Regions from separate parts of the Homo sapiens genome. Here region 1 is linked to region 2. Evidence: promoter capture Hi-C in human tissues and cell types (Jung and others, 2019). All regions are on one chromosome and are shown on one strand. The core of a region is centred on a gene start or on the middle of the fragment in contact, and the rest is flanking DNA. Distances in the headings are between cores, read along the strand shown. Region 1 has its middle 13 kb from the start of HTR3E-AS1. Region 2 holds the start of HTR3D (5-hydroxytryptamine receptor 3D).

Region 1 (3,893 bases), core at 1,230-3,729, 87 kb after region 2:
CAGTTTATTGGCTATCCCATTACTCTTTTTGTGGAGAAGAAACGTAATAAACAAGTCAGTGATGCTGAGGCTGAAAAAAAGGAAGATAAGAGGAAGAAAAAGAAAGAGTCCAATGACAAACCTGAAATTGAAGATGTTGGTTCTGATGAAGAAGAAGAAAAGAAGGATGCTGACAAGAAGAAGAAGAAAAGTAAGGAAAAGTACATTGATCAAGAACTCAACAAAACAAAGCCTATCTGGACCAGAAATCCTGACGCTATTACTAACGAGGAGTATGGAGAGTTCCATCAGAGCTTGACCAATAACTGGGAAGATCACTTGGCAGTGAAGCACTTTTCAGTTGAAGGGCAGTTGGAAGAGTTGAAGGACAGTCGAAGAGTTTAGAAGAGCTCTTTTTGTTTCAAGATGTGCTCCTTTTGACCTATTTGAAAACAGAAAGAAAAAGAACAACATTCAGTTGTATGTACACAGAGTTTTCATCATGGGTAACTGTGAGGAGCTAATCCCTGAATACCTGAACTTCATTAGAGGGGTGATGGACTCAGAGGATCTCCCTCTAAATATTTTTTCTGAGATGTTGCAACAAAGCAAAATTTTGAAAGTTATTAGGAAGAATTTGGTCAAAACATACTTAGAACTCTTTGCTGAACTGGCAGAGGATAAAAAGAACTACAAAAAGTTCCACGAGAAGTTATCTGAAAACATAAATCTTTGAATATATAGACTCTCAAAATCAGAAGAAGCTTTCAGAGCTGTTGAAATAGTGCACATCTGCCTCTCGTGATGAGATGGTTTATCTCATTGTGTTTTCCAGAATGAAGGCAAACCAGAAACATATCTATTACATTACAGGTGAGACCAAGGACCAAGTAGCTAACTCAGCCTTTGTGGAATGTCTTCAGAAGCATGGCTTAGAAGTGATCTATATGATCGAGTTGATTGATAAGTACTGTGTCCAGCAGCTGAAGGAACTTGAGAGTAAGACTGTAGTGTCAGTTGCCAAAGAGGGTTTGGAACTTCCAGAAGATGAAGAAGAAAAAAAGAAACAGGAAGAGAAAAAAACAAAGTTTGAGAACCTCTGCAAAATCATGAAAGACATGTTGGAGAAAAAAGTCAAAAAGGTGGTTGTGTCAAACTGGTGACATCCCCATGCTGTATTGTCACAAGCACATATGGCTGGACAGCAAACATGGAAAGAATCATGAAAGCTCAAGCCCGGTAAGACAACTCAACAATGGGCTACGTGGCAGCAAAGAAACACCTGGAGATAAACCCTGACCATTCATGATTGAAACCTTAAGGCAAAAGGCAGAGGCTGATAAGAACAACAAGTCAGTGAAGGATCTGGTCATCTTGCTTTACTAAACTGCACTCCCATCTCCTGGCTTCAGTATGGAAGACCCTCAGAGACATACTAACAAGATCTATAGGATGATCAAACTTGGTCTGGGTGTTGATGAATATGATCCTACTGCTAATGATATCAATGCCGCTATAACTAAAGAAATGCCGCCCCTCAGAGGAGGTGATGACACATCACGCATGGAAGAAGTAGGCGGCTCTGGCTGAGGAATGACTTGTACATGTGTTCAATACTCTATCTTCATTCTCTCTGATAATATATTTTCAGGATTATTTTAGTTATTTTTGTTAACATTTAAAAAGTCTGTATGGGGGCCGGGCGTGGTGGCTCACACCTGTAATCCCAGCACTTTGGGAGGCTGAGGCAGGTGGATCACCTGAGGTCAGGAGTTCGAGACCAGCCTGGCCAACATGGCGAAACCCAATCTCTACTAAAAAAAAACAAAATATTAGCCGGGTGTGGTGGTGTGCACCTGTAATCCCAGCTACTCAGGAGGCTGAGGCAGGAGAATCATGTGAACCCAGGAGGCGGAGGTTGCTGTGAGCTGAGATCACGCCATTGCACTCCAGCCCGGGAGAAAGTGGGAGACTCTGCCTTCAAAAAAAAAAAAAAAAAAGTCTGCATGGCATGACAATAACTATTTCAGGGGGAAGGTAAGGTTTCTTTCTACTTCTAAGTGATTTTGTGATACTTCTAAGTGATTTTGTGATACTTCAGGCACTAAAACAGAGCTAGCAATGCTTTTCTAGTTTCACATTGGCTTATTTTAACAGATTGGGGTAATGTGTGTTGTAAGATGTATGTAGGCTGGGTGCGGTGGCTCACGCCTGTAATCCCAGCACTTTGGGAGGACGAGGCGGGTGGATCACCTGAGGTCAGGAGTTCAAGACCAGCCTGGCCAACATGACAAAACCTCGTCTCTACTAAAAATACAAAAATTAGTTGGGTGCTATGGCAGGTGCCTGTAATCCCAGGTACTCGGGAGGCTGAGGCAGGGGAATTGCTTGAACCCAGGAAGTGGAGGTTGCAGTGAGCCAAGATCACGCCACTGTACTCTAGCCTGGGCAACAGAGAGAGACTCCACCTCAAAAAAAAAAAAAAAGAAAGAAAGAAAGAAAGAAAAGAAAAAAAAAAGATGTATGTAACCTAACATTAACTTTGTGATCTAAACTGTTTAAGCTATCAAGCCAGATTCCTTAGTAGGCCAAATCTTTGTCACTGAAGTTTTCTGAGAAATACCTTGATGTTTAGAGGAAAAGTATTTGTTGCATCTTCTAGGATCTACTTTTTAAACTTTTCATCCTGTAGTTGCCAATTCTGCATGTAATTGTCCTCTGGAAATATGTTAAACTGAAGCAACTTGATGGAAGGAACTCTCCACAGGACTTGTTTTCCAAAGGAAAATATTGTTTGCAGGAGCAAAATTATAAGCCTACCTAGGCATATTGTAAAGCTGTTCAGAAATAACCCAGAGCGAGGCTTGTGAATGGAACTGTAGTACCCAAGTCACATTCTGCTTAAAAAGGTTGTAACAAATACAGATGAGTTTAAAAGAAAAAAAAAAAAAAGGCAGAAATGCAACAGGCCCAGAATAATCAAAACAATCCTGGAGCAGAACACAGTTGGTAGACTCACACTTCCTCATTTCAAAACGTACTGCAGGCCAGGCGCGGTGGTTCATACCTGTAATCCCAGCACTTTGGGAGACCGAGGCGAGGGGATCGCCTGAGGTCAGGAGTTTGAGACCAGCCCGGCCAAAGTAGCAAAACCCCATCTCTACTAAAAATACAAAAATTAGCTGGACATGGTGGCGTGTGCCTGTAATCCCAGCTACTCGGGAGGCTGAGGAAGGAGAATCGCTTGAACCCAGGAGGTGGAGGTTGCAGTGAGCCGAGATCGTGGCACTGTACTTCAGCCTGAGAGACAGAGCAAGACTCCATCTTAAAAAAAAAAACTTACTACAAAGATATTGTAATCAAGATAGTGTGATACTGGCATAAGGAAAGACATATAGGTCAACGAAATTCGAATGGAGAGTTCATAAATAAACCCTAACATTTACGGTCAATTTATTTTCTACAAAGGGAACAAAATAATTCAATGATAAAAAGAATAGTTTTTTTCAGCAAATGGTGCTTAGACAACTGGATATCCACATGCAAAAGAATGTCTTTGGACCCCTACCCCTCACACCATACACAAAAATCAACTCAAAATGGATCACAGTCCTAAACATAGGAGCTAAATGTTTTCTTAGAAGAAAACATAGCAGTTAATCTTCACGATCTTGGGGTGGGCTATGATTTCTTATATATGACTATTATAAGCACAAACGATAAAAAAGAAAGATAGATAAGCCTGGGCGCGGTAGCTCATGCCTATAATCCAAGCACTTTGGGAGGTCTAGGCAGGCGGATCACCTGAGGTCAGGAGTTTGAGGCCAGCCTGACCAACATGGAGAAACCCTGTCTCTACTAAAAATACAAAATTAGCCGGGCGTGGTGGCGCATGCCTGTAATCCCAGCTACTT
Region 2 (4,295 bases), core at 1,310-3,809:
GGTGGTGGGCGCCTGTAGTCCCAGCTACTTGGGAGGCTGAGGCAGGAGAATGGCGTGAACCCGGGAGGCGGAGCTTGCAGTGAGCAGAGATCTCGCCACTGCACTCCACCCTGGGCGACAGAGCAAGGCTCCATCTCAAAAAAAAAAAAAAGTTAAAAAAAGAATCACAAAAGAAATTCTTAACATTGAAAGCCAAAGTCAAACACCTACAGAGGCCAACCAGGTAACATAAATGAGGAGAGCTGCTCAGGAATAAGACAGGAGGGGTGATGGAGACTGTGGTGATCTAGAGTGAGTATGAACCATCCAAAGGGTTTCACTACTTCTGAGCTTTGGCAGATTGTTGTCAAGCAGAAACGTGAGCCTCATGTTGCTAGATCTTATTTTTCAAATGAAGCCAGAAACAGTTTTTATGTGAAATCTCAATGTTTAAGTGTTACACAACTAACTTTAAAAAAAGAAAAAAAAAACACTAGCAGGGCCAAAAATAACATAAACTTTCAGGCTAATAGCTCATGACCTTTTCTTTAAAATCATAAGTCAGCAGCTGGGCGTGGTGGCTCATGCATGTAATCCCAGCACTTTGGGAGGCCAAGGCAGGCAGATCACCTAAGTTTGGGAGTTTGAGACCAGCCTGACCAACATGGAGAAACCCCATCTCTACTAAAACAAAACACAAAAAATACAAAAAAATTAGCTGGGCGTCAGCCATCCCATTACTGGGTATATACCCAAAGGATTATAAATCATGCTGCTATAAAGACACATGCACATGTATGTTTATTGCAGCATTATTCACAATAGCAAAGACTTGGAACTAACCCAAATGTCCATCAATGATAGACTGGATTAAGAAAATGTGGCACATATATATCATGGAATACTATGCAGCCATAAAAAAGGATGAGTTCATGTCCTTTGTAGGGACATGGATGAAGCTGGAAACCATCATTCTGAGAAAACGAGCGAGGACAGAAAACCAAACACTGCATGTTCCCACTCATAGGTGGGAATTGAACAATGAGAACACTTGGACACAGGGTGGGGAACATTACACACTGGGGCCTGTCATGGGGTGGGGGGAGCGGGGAGGGATAGCAATAGGAGATATACCTAATGTAAATGACGAGTTAATGGGTGCAGCACACCAACATGGCACATGTATACATATGTAACAAACCTGCACGTTGTGCACATGTACCCTAGAACTTAAAGTATAATAAAAAAATGAAAAAAAAATTATCTGGGCTTTGTGGTGCATGCCTGTAATTCCAGCTACTCGGGAGGCTGAGGCAGGATAATCGCTTGAACCCGGGAGGCAGAGGTTGTGGTGGGCCAAGATCGCGCCATTGCACTCCAGCCTGGGCAGCAAGAGAGAAACTCCATTTAAAAAAAAAAATCATAAGTCAGCTTTTATTTTAAAAAAGTATTACCTCTGCCACCACCCCCTACTCCACTAATCACTCCCTTCATTGGGTAGACCTGGGTCCAGATTGCTTTTGAAACACTAAAAAGGCATAGCAAATCAGCTTTGAGAAGAGGAAGCAGAAATATGTCATCACTGGAGCAGTGCTAATGGCTTCCTCATACTTTAAAGTCTTAACTATACTGAAGTCATGTTTAAAACCTCAGTGTATGAAGTTGCTTATATTAATAGGGACCCCCCTCCCCCCAACACGCTTTCTTTTTTGAAAGATGGCAGTAGGGGGCCGGGCATGGTAGCTCACGCTTGTAATTCCAGCACTTTGGGAGCCAAGGTGGGCAGATCACCTGAGGTCAGGAGTTTGAGGCCAGCCAACCAACATGGTAAAACCTCGTCTCTACTAAAAATACAAAAACTTAGCCAGGCATGGTGGCAGGCGCCTGTAATCACAGCTACTTGGGAGGCTGAGGCAGGAGAATCGATTGAACCCGGGAGGCGGAGGTTGCAGTGAGCCAAGACTGCACCATTGCACTCCAGCCTGGGAGACAGAGGGAGACTCCGTCGCAAAAAAAAAAAAGGAAGGGAGGGAGGGAGGGAGAAAGAGAGAGAGAGGGAGGGAGGGAGAGAGAGAGAGAGAGAGAGAGAAGGAAAGAAAGAAAAAAGAAAGAAAAAGAGAAAGAGAAAGAAAGAGAAAGAAAGAAAAAGAAAGAGAAAAGAAAGAAAGAAAGAAGAAAGGAAAAGAAAAGAAAGAAAGATGACAGCAGGGTCTAACAAGTTCACGTGCCACCTGGAGGCAGTGGTAGTCATCCATGCCTTCTCGGTGAGGCACTGTACGCCAGAGTGACTTTAAAGTATGAGGAAGCCATTAGCACTGCTCCAGGGACCACATATTTTTGCTTCCTCTTCTCCAAACTGATTTGCCATATTACTTTTGGAGGCTAGATTCAGGCCCAGTTAAAGCACAGGGTGAGTTATTCCTCTGTGACATTCTTTTGTCACCAAGGGGTCTTGTTAGAGAGGCGGTTAATGCCAGCTGATATATATATTATTCAAAGGTAGGGCTCAAGGTGTGATCTGAGGTTTTTTAAAGGTTAACATCATCATCAAGTACCCAGAGAAGTGCCAAAGAGAGGAAGATGGAAAGAGGCTGGTTCCATGGGAAAGGATTCCTCCTTGGCTTCATCCTCCACCTGCTGCTGCAAGTACCTTAAGATAAGAGCAAGAGCTGAGCAGACATGTAACTCCTGGGAAGCAGAGAAAACAGGCTAATATTTTTTATTCTGAGATAGTCAATGATTGGATGTTCGTTATGGTAAAAATGATGCTCGTGACACTGATGGCTTTGTACCTCTTCCTAGGATCCTAATATTTAGTTAACTCTTTTCTCTTCTTTTTTTTTTTTTTTTTGAGATGGAGTCTCGCTCTGTTACCCAGGCTAGAGTGCAGTGGCAATATCTCAGCCCATTGCAACCTTCACCTCCCAGGTTCAAACGATCTCATGCCTCAGCCTCCCAAGTAGCTGGGATTACAGGCACCTGCCACCGTGCCTGGCTAATTTTTGTATTTTTAGTAGAGATGGGGTTTCACCATGTTGGCCAGGCTGGTCTTGAATGCCTGTCCTCAGGTGATCTGCCCGCGTGGGCCTCCCAAAGTGTTGGGATTACAGGCGTGAGCCCCTGAGCCCAGCCTGGGAACTCTTTAAGATAATCCTAGTGATGAAGACTACTAAATGTTAGAACAATCACAGCACATAGTAAAGACACAGTAAATACTCATCAAATTGAAAAACTGAAATTGATTTGTTTCCTTAAGATCCCATATATCTCACACTACCTATCTGATTACTCCCCTTATCATTAATTTATTAGCATCTATGCCATATTAATACAGCGAGGCGGAGAACTGTGAGTGCAAAATTTGTCACTGACATCACCCACATGGCTCCAGGTTGGAGGTAAGCAAGAGAAGGACACTGGCAGAAGGTGGAGAGGTTGCAGTGAGATTGTTAAGGACATGGCAGGACACTGTAAAGTGGCGGTCGGGGTTGAGTTTGCATACACATCTGGACAGGTTTTGCATGGGGACAAAACAATGGCACTGAGGATGGATCCTTGACTCAGCTCACCTCATCAGTTTCCACCATTTGCCTACCAGCTCAGCCTACTCTTCCTGGACCAGGAAGGAGGAGCTCACATGCTTCTCCCAGTGCCCCCTGTTTTCTCTCCATGCAGAAACACTCTCCAGGCCCCCCAGCCCTGGCCCTCCTCTCTCAGTCTCTGCTCACTACAGGAAATGGCGACACTTTGATTATCAATTGCCCAGGCTTTGGCCAGCACAGGGTGGACCCTGCAGCCTTTCAAGCAGTGTTTGACAGAAAGGCTATTGGTCCAGTCACCAACTACAGTGTCGCCACTCATGTCAACATCTCCTTCACCTTGTCTGCCATCTGGAAGTTGTAAGTCCTCACCCAACATTGCAGTGGTCTAGTGGTGAGCAGTGGACCCTCTGACTGGATTTTTTTTTTTTTTTTTTGAGATGGAGTCTTGCTCTTGTCACCCAGGCTGGAGTGCAGTGGTGCAATCTCAGCTCACTGCAACCTCTGCCTCCCAGTTTCAAGCGATTCTCCTGCCTCAGCCTCCGGCACGTGCTGCCCCACCCAGCTAATTTTTGTATTTTTAGTAGAGACAGGGTTTCACCATGTTGGCCAGGCTGGTCTCAAATTCCTGACCTCAGGTGATCCACCTGCCTTGGTCTCCCAAAGTTCTGGGATTACAGGCATGAGCCACCGTGCCTGGCCCTTTGATTGGATTTTGTAAAATTAGTTACTCACAACAAAAAAATCAAACAACCCAATTCAAAAATGGGCAAAGGA

The links. Contacts are between HindIII fragments. The study calls those that stand out against the background at their distance.
Region 1: a contact is called between a fragment that was not itself captured here and the fragment with the promoter of HTR3D in region 2, in 2 of the 25 tissues and cell types used here (IMR-90 fibroblasts and small bowel).

Annotation. Positions count from the first base shown.
Region 1 is chr3:184,116,330-184,120,222 of GRCh38, forward strand. It overlaps the pseudogene HSP90AA5P. Among named protein-coding and RNA genes, the nearest start is that of HTR3E-AS1, 13 kb to the left of the region's middle. The HindIII fragment of the contact is 9,466 bases long and covers 1-3,893 here.
Region 2 is chr3:184,029,183-184,033,477 of GRCh38, forward strand. It overlaps HTR3D (5-hydroxytryptamine receptor 3D), which reads left to right and starts at 2,560. Exons shown (of 8, transcript NM_001145143.1): 1 at 2,560-2,625. The coding sequence starts at 2,560. The HindIII fragment of the contact is 22,402 bases long and covers 1-4,295 here.